3 separate regions of the Homo sapiens genome follow, and regions 1 and 2 are each linked to region 3. The links are contacts of gene promoters, found by promoter capture Hi-C in blood cells and fetal thymus (Javierre and others, 2016). All regions are on one chromosome and are shown on one strand. The core of a region is centred on a gene start or on the middle of the fragment in contact, and the rest is flanking DNA. Distances in the headings are between cores, read along the strand shown.

Evidence for each region. The method cuts DNA at HindIII sites, captures the fragments that hold promoters and counts their contacts. A CHiCAGO score of 5 or more calls a contact.
Region 1: a fragment that was not itself captured here is called in contact with the fragment with the promoter of CNRIP1 in region 3 in 10 of 17 cell types (M0 macrophages, erythroblasts, endothelial precursors and 7 more); the score reaches 8.2 in M0 macrophages.
Region 2: a fragment that was not itself captured here is called in contact with the fragment with the promoter of CNRIP1 in region 3 in 1 of 17 cell types (erythroblasts); the score reaches 5.4 in erythroblasts.

The regions. Positions count from the first base shown.
Region 1 is chr2:68,124,383-68,127,082 of GRCh38, reverse strand. It overlaps the pseudogene PPIAP64. Among named protein-coding and RNA genes, the nearest start is that of DNAAF10, 32 kb to the left of the region's middle. The HindIII fragment of the contact is 2,103 bases long and covers 343-2,445 here.
Region 2 is chr2:68,177,280-68,179,979 of GRCh38, reverse strand. PPP3R1 (protein phosphatase 3 regulatory subunit B, alpha) reads left to right here. Exons shown (of 6, transcript NM_000945.4): 6 at 1-1,123. Among named protein-coding and RNA genes, the nearest start is that of PNO1, 21 kb to the right of the region's middle. The HindIII fragment of the contact is 4,701 bases long and covers 1-2,700 here.
Region 3 is chr2:68,318,630-68,321,329 of GRCh38, reverse strand. CNRIP1 (cannabinoid receptor interacting protein 1) reads left to right here and starts at 1,381. Exons shown (of 3, transcript NM_015463.3): 1 at 1,381-2,108. The coding sequence starts at 1,930. The HindIII fragment of the contact is 3,613 bases long and covers 1,257-2,700 here.

The sequences.
Region 1 (2,700 bases), core at 145-2,644, 190 kb after region 3:
AGTGAGCTGAGATTGTGCCACTGGACTCCAGCCTGTGCGACAGAGTGAGACCCCCATCTCAAAAAACAGAAAAAAAAAAAAAAAAAAAAAAAAAAAAGCATGTGAGACTTGAAATACTGTGGCTAGTTTTGGAAAAGACAATCTGGTGTAGTGATTATAAGATGCATCCTAATTTCAAAGATGCATAAATGGGCAGAAGGATGTGCTCATTTGAATTGATGAAATACATTGCTTCAAATGCAGATACTCCTATCCCATCTACGTACACCCTTCCCTTCCCCTAATTTATTGCAGACATGACTAATCAATCATGCCACTCATTCTTCCTGAGCCTCAGAAGCTTTATCACACTCTGCTAGGAGCCACTACCAACTGCTGGCAAGTGAGATAAAATGGGTTTACTCTCCTGAATCTAGAGAATGATGCCCTGTGAAAAACAGGTAGCCTCCTGGACCAGGAGTCATTGGACTCTCCTCTCTCCTAATCCGTGGCTTTGTGTTTCAGTATGCCAAGAAATGATGAGGCTCTCCAGCACTAGACCATGTAAACCAAACTGATGCAAAAACCAAAATGGCGCATCATTCATATGTAGTGAGGGATGAACCCTTAGGTGCCAAAATGCCTAGGTTTGCCAAATGAGAACCTTGTTCATCTCCATTTATCTGAGATTCTGTGTAATTGTTTTGAAGTCTTTCTGTGAGAGTGGAATTAGAGACAGGTGTTGACAGTATTTAAAATAATGCATCCAGACCTTAGCGAAGCCTAAAAAAAAACAACCGTCTCAGAACCCTGAAGCTCTAGGCTATTGTGCAATTTTTACTGCAAATATGTTTCCATTCTTTAACTTACAGCACTTCGCTAAGTGTGGTGGTAAATTATAGAGTGTTTTAGTAAGGGATTTCTGGAATAATTCTTATGGGGTGGCCTGGAACCTTCCAGGGAAATGCTACTTTGTAATTAGTTTTTCTTTTTTCCTTTGGCCACCAGACTGTCCTCTAAAGTAAGTGAAACATGCAGGCTTCGGATATGAAGCTGGGTTGTGCAACCTGATTATAACAGCAATCTGCAATCAGGCGCTATGGCTCGTTTGAAAAATATGTGGGCAATTGGCTTTTAGCTATGCTTTTGTTGCTGTTGTTATTATTTAGTTTTTATTTCATAATCATAAACTTAACTCTGCAATCCAGCTAGGCATGGAAGGGAATAAGGAAAGCATGGAACTGCAGCGGGAGTACAAAGATTCTAGGATACTACGAGCAAATGGGGTGGAGGGGTGCTCTCCTGAGCTACAGAAGGAATGGTCTGGTGGTTAAGACAAAACACAAGTCAAACTGATTAGAGTTGTCCACAGTCAGCGATGGTGATCTTGCTGGTCTTGCCATTCCTGGACCCAAAGTGCTCCATGGCCTCCACAATATTCATGCCTTCTTTCACCTTGCCATAGACTACATGGTTGCCATCCAACCACTCAGTCTTGGCAGTGCAGATGAAAAACTGGGAACCATCTGTGTTGGGTCCAGCGTTTGCTATGGACAAGATGCCAGGACCTTTATGCTTCAGGATGAAGTTCTCGTCATCAAATTTCTCCCCATAGATGGACCAGTGCCATTATGGCGTGTGAAGTCACCACCCTGACACATAAACCCTGGAATAATTGTGTGAAAGCAGGAACCCTTATACCCAAATCCTTTCTCTCCAGTGCTCAGAGCACAGAAGTTTTCTGCTGTCTTTGGAATCTTGTCTGCAAACAGCTTGATGGAGATGCGGCCCAAGGGCTCACTGTCGATGGCAATTTCTAAGAACACGGTGGAGTTGACCACGCTGGTAGTACAGGGCTTCCGGTGGCGTTGGCATCTGCTAGCTATGTTTTTTTAAAAGGCAGGTTGGTTATGCTTACCCAGGAAACCTCTATCTCCGAATGTCTGGCCACTCTCACTGTGTTGTGGAGCCCCACCTCCCTGCTTTGGATGAGACTAGACTGCCAGGCGCCATTCTCAGGGCCATACCCAGCAGTCCCAATAAAACGGGGCTTAATGCTGCTCTGAGAGCTTGGGGGCACTGGGCCCATGCTGCACTCAGACTTATCAGGACCTGCTAACAGAAGTCCTGTGCATTGTCCAACCAGCTGAGGACTCAGGGCTGCTAGGACAATGTCCTCTATTATTCCACCCTAAGTACCTGCATATTGCCTGGAGTGGTGAGAAATTCTTTACTCATCCATTTTCCCTACTGGGTCTAGGATGGACAAATGGCAGTATGAAAACTGTGAATCTTTGTTACTGTGTAGGGATCTAGAGGCTAAACCCTTGTCCTCAACCCCAGAACCAGAAAAATGGTTATTAATCAGGACAGCACAGTGAAAGCAGATGCAGATTATCCTCACAGTGCATGGCCATTAATGCAGTTGTCCATAGGTTTTGTATATTTTACATCAAACATCAAGCTTGAATGAAGGAACAGGATTTTGACTTTGTGTTTTTAACTTGAAGCATGAGATTCTAGGTAAAAGGGCTGTGACCAAGTACAGCTGCATTTATACAGTCATGGTGGAGGAATTTTATGAAGGATTCTTTAACAACTGAACTTTGCTTATGGTGTTCTGATCCAACTCTATCCCTAAGCCAACTTAAAACCAGATCACTCAGCAATACCCTTTATACAACACTTTTTTATTTTAATTGAGACTGAGTCTTGCTCTGT
Region 2 (2,700 bases), core at 48-2,547, 140 kb after region 3:
GTCATTAAACTTGTGTTTGAATCATGAATTCCCTTGTTTCAAAAGACTTGCAGCTAATCTAAAAAACTGGTGATATTTAATATGCATGTATGTATCTAAACACCCACATATATTTGTGGTTTAAGTGTGAGAAATCTTGCTAATCTATATGCCACAGAAGAGCAAAATTGTATCCAAATTTATGCCACTTAAATTTCTTTACCACGAGGGATAGAGCATGCATACTGGTTTTTTTTTCTTGATTTGCCCATATAATTGGTAATGGATAACTTAATAAATTTGTGTGATATAAAAGTAGTGTATCATGTTCTACTGTTTGATCTTATCCCTTCCCATTTCTGCAAAGGTACTGTTAGCTGGAAGAAAAACATTTTGGTTAGCTTTGTATGACAGTAGTCTTTCCCTTTATAGTTTCTCTATAAAAACTGGTTTTAAAATCAGTGGAAAAGGGCAGGTTGAATCAAGGTGAATCAATCTGAAATTGAGCACACCTGCCTGCCATCGCTGTTCCTTCAACTGAGTGCTGCACATCATGGGCTCTGTCTGTGAGAGAAAAATCCCGGTGCTTGGTGTCCTTGCATGACATGGAGTTTTGCATGTAGATCAATTTAAAATGTACCTCTTGTTTACATAATTTGCATAATTTTAAAAGATAATGTTGCCAAACTTTGGAAATGTTAATGTTCAGACTGAAAATCTCCACTACATGTAACTTTCTTCCTCTGGATCAGTGGCATGGCTTATAATCCCAGCCAGTGGTTTGAACTGTTCCAGTGTCAACTGCCATGTGCTCTGCTTCAAGGGGGAACTAGCCTTTTGTGAATTTTTTGTACATAAGTATTTGTTACAAATATTTTAGCAAATGCTTTCTATTTCTCTTGCTTGTGCATATCTTGGCTGGCGTTACAGAAAAATAGTGTAAACATTATTTCCTTACCGGGGAATGAGGGTTTTTTCTTTTTCTTTTTTTTTTTTTTTTTTTTTAGTTTGTGTGTGGGGGTGGGTAAGGGAGGGGATGGTTTATGTTGAATGTTTAGTTTTTCTTCTGCATGATACGTCATGTTGTGGGATCTTTAGAAAACTTCATACTGTATGAATAAGAAAATAAAATATTTGAAACTTGCTTGAATGTATTCAGTGGTCTTTGATGGTTTCCATAGCTATGAGAATTTTTTTTCCTCTCAGGCTTTTAAATTCTTAAAAACAGTCTGGTAAAGTGACATTTAATCTCTATAAAAACCTACAAATTCCTGTAGTACTCTCCCATCACCTCCTGCCATGACTTCCCTTACTGCTACCCCTCTCTCTACTCCAGCCATGTTAGCCTCCGGTGGTACCTGGAGTCTTGGGTTTGTGTCTCTTAGGCCCTTGCGCTATCAGTCCCTTTTTGCCCCTTTCCTTTCCCAGTATCTCATAGCTAATGCCTTCAGGTGTTTGTTCAGTTACAGCCTAGCTCAAAAGGAACTGTCCTGGCTACCCTATTAAAAAATACAGATACGCCTGGCTCTTCTTTCCTCCTCTATATTTTTCCTTCTACAATGGCATTTATTCTTTTCTGACACAGTTTACTTACGTATTTTGTATTCCCTGACTACTGAATAAAATGAAAGCTCCAAAAGGGTAGTGATTTGTCTCTTGTTCACTGATAGCCCCAGCCCAGTTGTCCAGAGTATTACCTAGCTCTTAGTGTTTACCCAATAAATAATTAATAAATTAATGTGATACCCTGTTTATGCAGGTTGTGATTTTATAATAAATGCTATTCAGTATTTTTAAAAGGTAAAATTGGCATTTCTTGAGATTACATTTACTTGGTAACTTTGCTTTCATTTATTCAACTTTACAGTCCCTACTACATGTCCATCACTGTAATAGGCACTTGAGATGCTCTGGCAAATGACATCCCTGGGCCAGATAAGTTGGGGATGTTTTATATCCAGAACACCTGTATCACCAGATGTGCACTAGTTACAATGGGTTCTGTGACTTGTTAAAACATCCCAGGAGTAAAGGTTTGTTAGACCTAAGCAAGTAGATGGATTTAAGGCCCAGAGCTCCTTTTCTTTTTTTTGAGACAGGGTCTTGTTCTGTTCATCTGGGCTGGAGTGCAGTGGGATGATCACAGCTCACTGCAGTCTCAGTCTTCTGGGGTCAAGCAATCCTCCCACCTCAGCCTCCAGAGTAGCTGGAACCACAGATGCATGCCAGTACCTGGCTGTTTTTGTTTTGTTAAGACAGGGTGTTGTTATGTTGCCAGGCTGGTCTTGAACTCCTGGGCTCAAGCGATCCTCCCATGTTGGCCTCCCAGTGTTGGGATTACAGGCTTAAGCCACCACACCCGGCCCTTTTTTTAAACCTACTTCTAACAGTCTTAGAAGTAGACAAGATGACTATCCAAGGAGCATGAGCTTTCTTGCATACCATTCCTAGTTCTAGGTGGCATGAGAGTTGGAGCCCAGCTCTTCAGGAGCGAGTGACTAGGAGGAAACTCCATGGGTCTCTTGCCAGCCACGAATACCTAAGAAAATGCTCTTCTCTCAGGCCCATCTCCCAGGCAATGTATCAGTGAATACATATGTAAAGTGTATGTCAGAAAATCGTACCAGATACTGAGTATCCAAAATATAAGCCTTAGGGTGGCAGGCAGACACAATAATTACAATATAGAGTGACAAGCGCCATAGAAACAGGTAAGGTTGG
Region 3 (2,700 bases), core at 132-2,631:
GGAAAAAAGGCAAAATTTCCAAAAAGGCTTTTAAATGACCCCAAAAAGATACTCACCCTCTTTCCACTACTCATAAACCATAATAACCAACATTAAGTTTACTGTGTAACTCTCTCATTCTTTTAAAAGAGCTAATACAAACATACACATTTATATTCTTTTTAAATTTTCATTTTTCTAAAACACTAGAGATGCTACTTGCAATTAGATTTCTTTTCATCATTCCAGGTAAATCGCAAGGATCTAATTAATTTTAAAGATGTGAAAGAATTTACATATGGACATGATTAAGACCACAACCGTAAGTCAATTCAACAACGATTTCTGGAGCACCTACTATGTGTCAGGCACTATTTTGGCATGCTGGGGAAACAGCAACAAACAAAACAGACAAAATGCTCGCCCTCAGGCTTTGTTTCCCAGCCATCCCACTTTTATCATTAACAGTTTTTGCCTGTGTGTTTGCCAATGCAACCTATATTTCATTATTTTGATAGTTGTGTAACGTTCTATAGTGTGGGTATATAAGAATTTATTCAGCCATTTATTTATTGGTTAACATTTCATTTAGGTTTTATTTTTATTTTTGCAACCAATGTTGCAATAAACACCCATATTACATATATATTATATGTATAGCTTATTATTTCTTAAAAAAGAGCAGTCTAACTTGGGTAAACAAAAACTGCCAAGGAAACGCATCCCTACCCATTTGTTCTCACTAGCCCACTTCATTTCCCAGGTGTGCTCCCTGGCTCTGGTACTATCCATCTGGGTGGTGCTGAAGCAGGTGCTCTCTCTGCTCCGGGAAGCCATTCCCAGTATAGTCCTCACCCCCTGAGTCTCCCCTCGCTTCCAAAAGTCAGCTGTCTACCGACCTCTGCCACGAAAACTGTCTAATCACGCTTAATATGCAAATCTAAACTCTGCGGTGTCGCATATGGCCCCCTGCCAATAATCCTTTGACCCATCCCACCTCTTGGCCATTTTGTCACCAGAATGCCTTAGGCTCATGTCAGTTGCCTTTTACAGGGTTAATAGCTCACCCTTCAAAATCTGTGTAAATATATGTGATTCATTACATATATTTATGTATGTGTCATTTTTGGGACGAGCATACGTATAATGGAAATGTACACCCACAAGAAGATGTAGCTCCTTGAATATGGTTATTTTCTTCCTCTTGCATCCATTCCTCATCCAGCGTGGCTCCATCACGTGGAATTGCGCCTTTCCTCGGCCATTTCCCCTAAGCTTTGGAAAGACTCATATTTCCTGAAATTTAAATCACCGGCTAGCGGTTTCCTGTCCCCCCTTCCCGCCTCCCTTTACCCCCCCTCAGCCTCCTCCCGCCTGGCTGGCGCCGGATCCGCGAGCAGCAGTGTCCACCTCACGTAGCTGGCCGAGGCGGTATCCAGATTCCGGGGGTCTCGCTCCTTGGCATAGTGGTCGCTTAACTCCAGCGCCTTCCCAGTGCCTCCCAAACCTCTCCTCCTCCTGCCCGGGGCTGTTCTAGGAGGAGCCTAAATGTCCGCTTCCCCAGCTGAAGGGGATTGTGGTGCGTAAACAGGATTAACTCCCTCGCCCCCAGCTGCGCGGATCTGCGCGGCGGCCTGCGGGCCAGAGCGAGCCTTCGGGTGCGTGGAGGGCGCAGCACTGGAGCGGGGGATGGGGAAGCGCGCGGCCTTGGAGCCGTCTCTTGGGCCCGCTTCCTCGCCGAGTGGGGAGGGGGGCCACAGCCTAAGGAGCTGCTCCTCAAAAGCCCGGGCGGACGGCGGCGACGGCGCGGGTTCCTAGCGGCAGCCTCAGCTCCACCACCTCCCTCACCCTCCCCGCGCTTCCTCTCCGCCCCTCGCGCTCCAGCCACTCGGCCGCAGCCGGCGCTGTCCTCCGCCCCCCGGAGCCGCCGCGCCAGACCCTCGCCCAGACATGGGGGACCTGCCGGGCCTCGTGCGCCTCTCCATCGCGCTGCGCATCCAGCCTAATGACGGCCCGGTCTTTTACAAGGTGGACGGGCAGCGCTTCGGCCAGAACCGCACCATCAAGCTGCTCACCGGCTCCTCCTACAAGGTTGAGGTGAAGATTAAACCCAGCACGCTGCAGGTCGAGTGAGTGCGGGGCGCCTGGTGGCAGCAGGGTCCCCCATGGGGTACAGGCAGAGGACTGAGGCCCCCAGGACAGCCCGAGCCTCTCAAGGGCCTCTGGCCTCGCGCCGCTCCCAGCGGGCCCGGGGGTTGGAGGAAGAGGTCACTCCCTGTCCGCCTTCGTCCCCTTCCTTCCCTTTGGCTTGTATTCCTCCATTCTCGCTTCCCTCCACCCATCGCAGTGACCTCAGTGGGTTCTTTAAAATCAGTGACAAGAAGCCAGGGTTTTTGCTTGTCTGTTTCTTATAAATTTCTCCTGCCTTCTGTCCAGCCTTGGGCGCGGAACCGCAGGCGGTCGGGGTGGAGCAGATGGGAGAGGTCCGCAGGGTTCAGCCACCGCAATCCCAGCCCTCCTGCGCGCGGTCCAGGCGGCCCACAGGGTCTGCCCGCAAGGCTGAAGGAGGGAGAAAGGAGGAATGAGGTGGAAAGGCAGGGGAGGGGTGATTACTGGGGCTCCCTGAGGGATGCTCCCCACTCCCTTCGCCATTCAGTGGCTGGGACCCTGGGGTGGAGCAGCAGACACTAGTAAGAGAGCGGCCGCCCCTTCTCTGGCCTA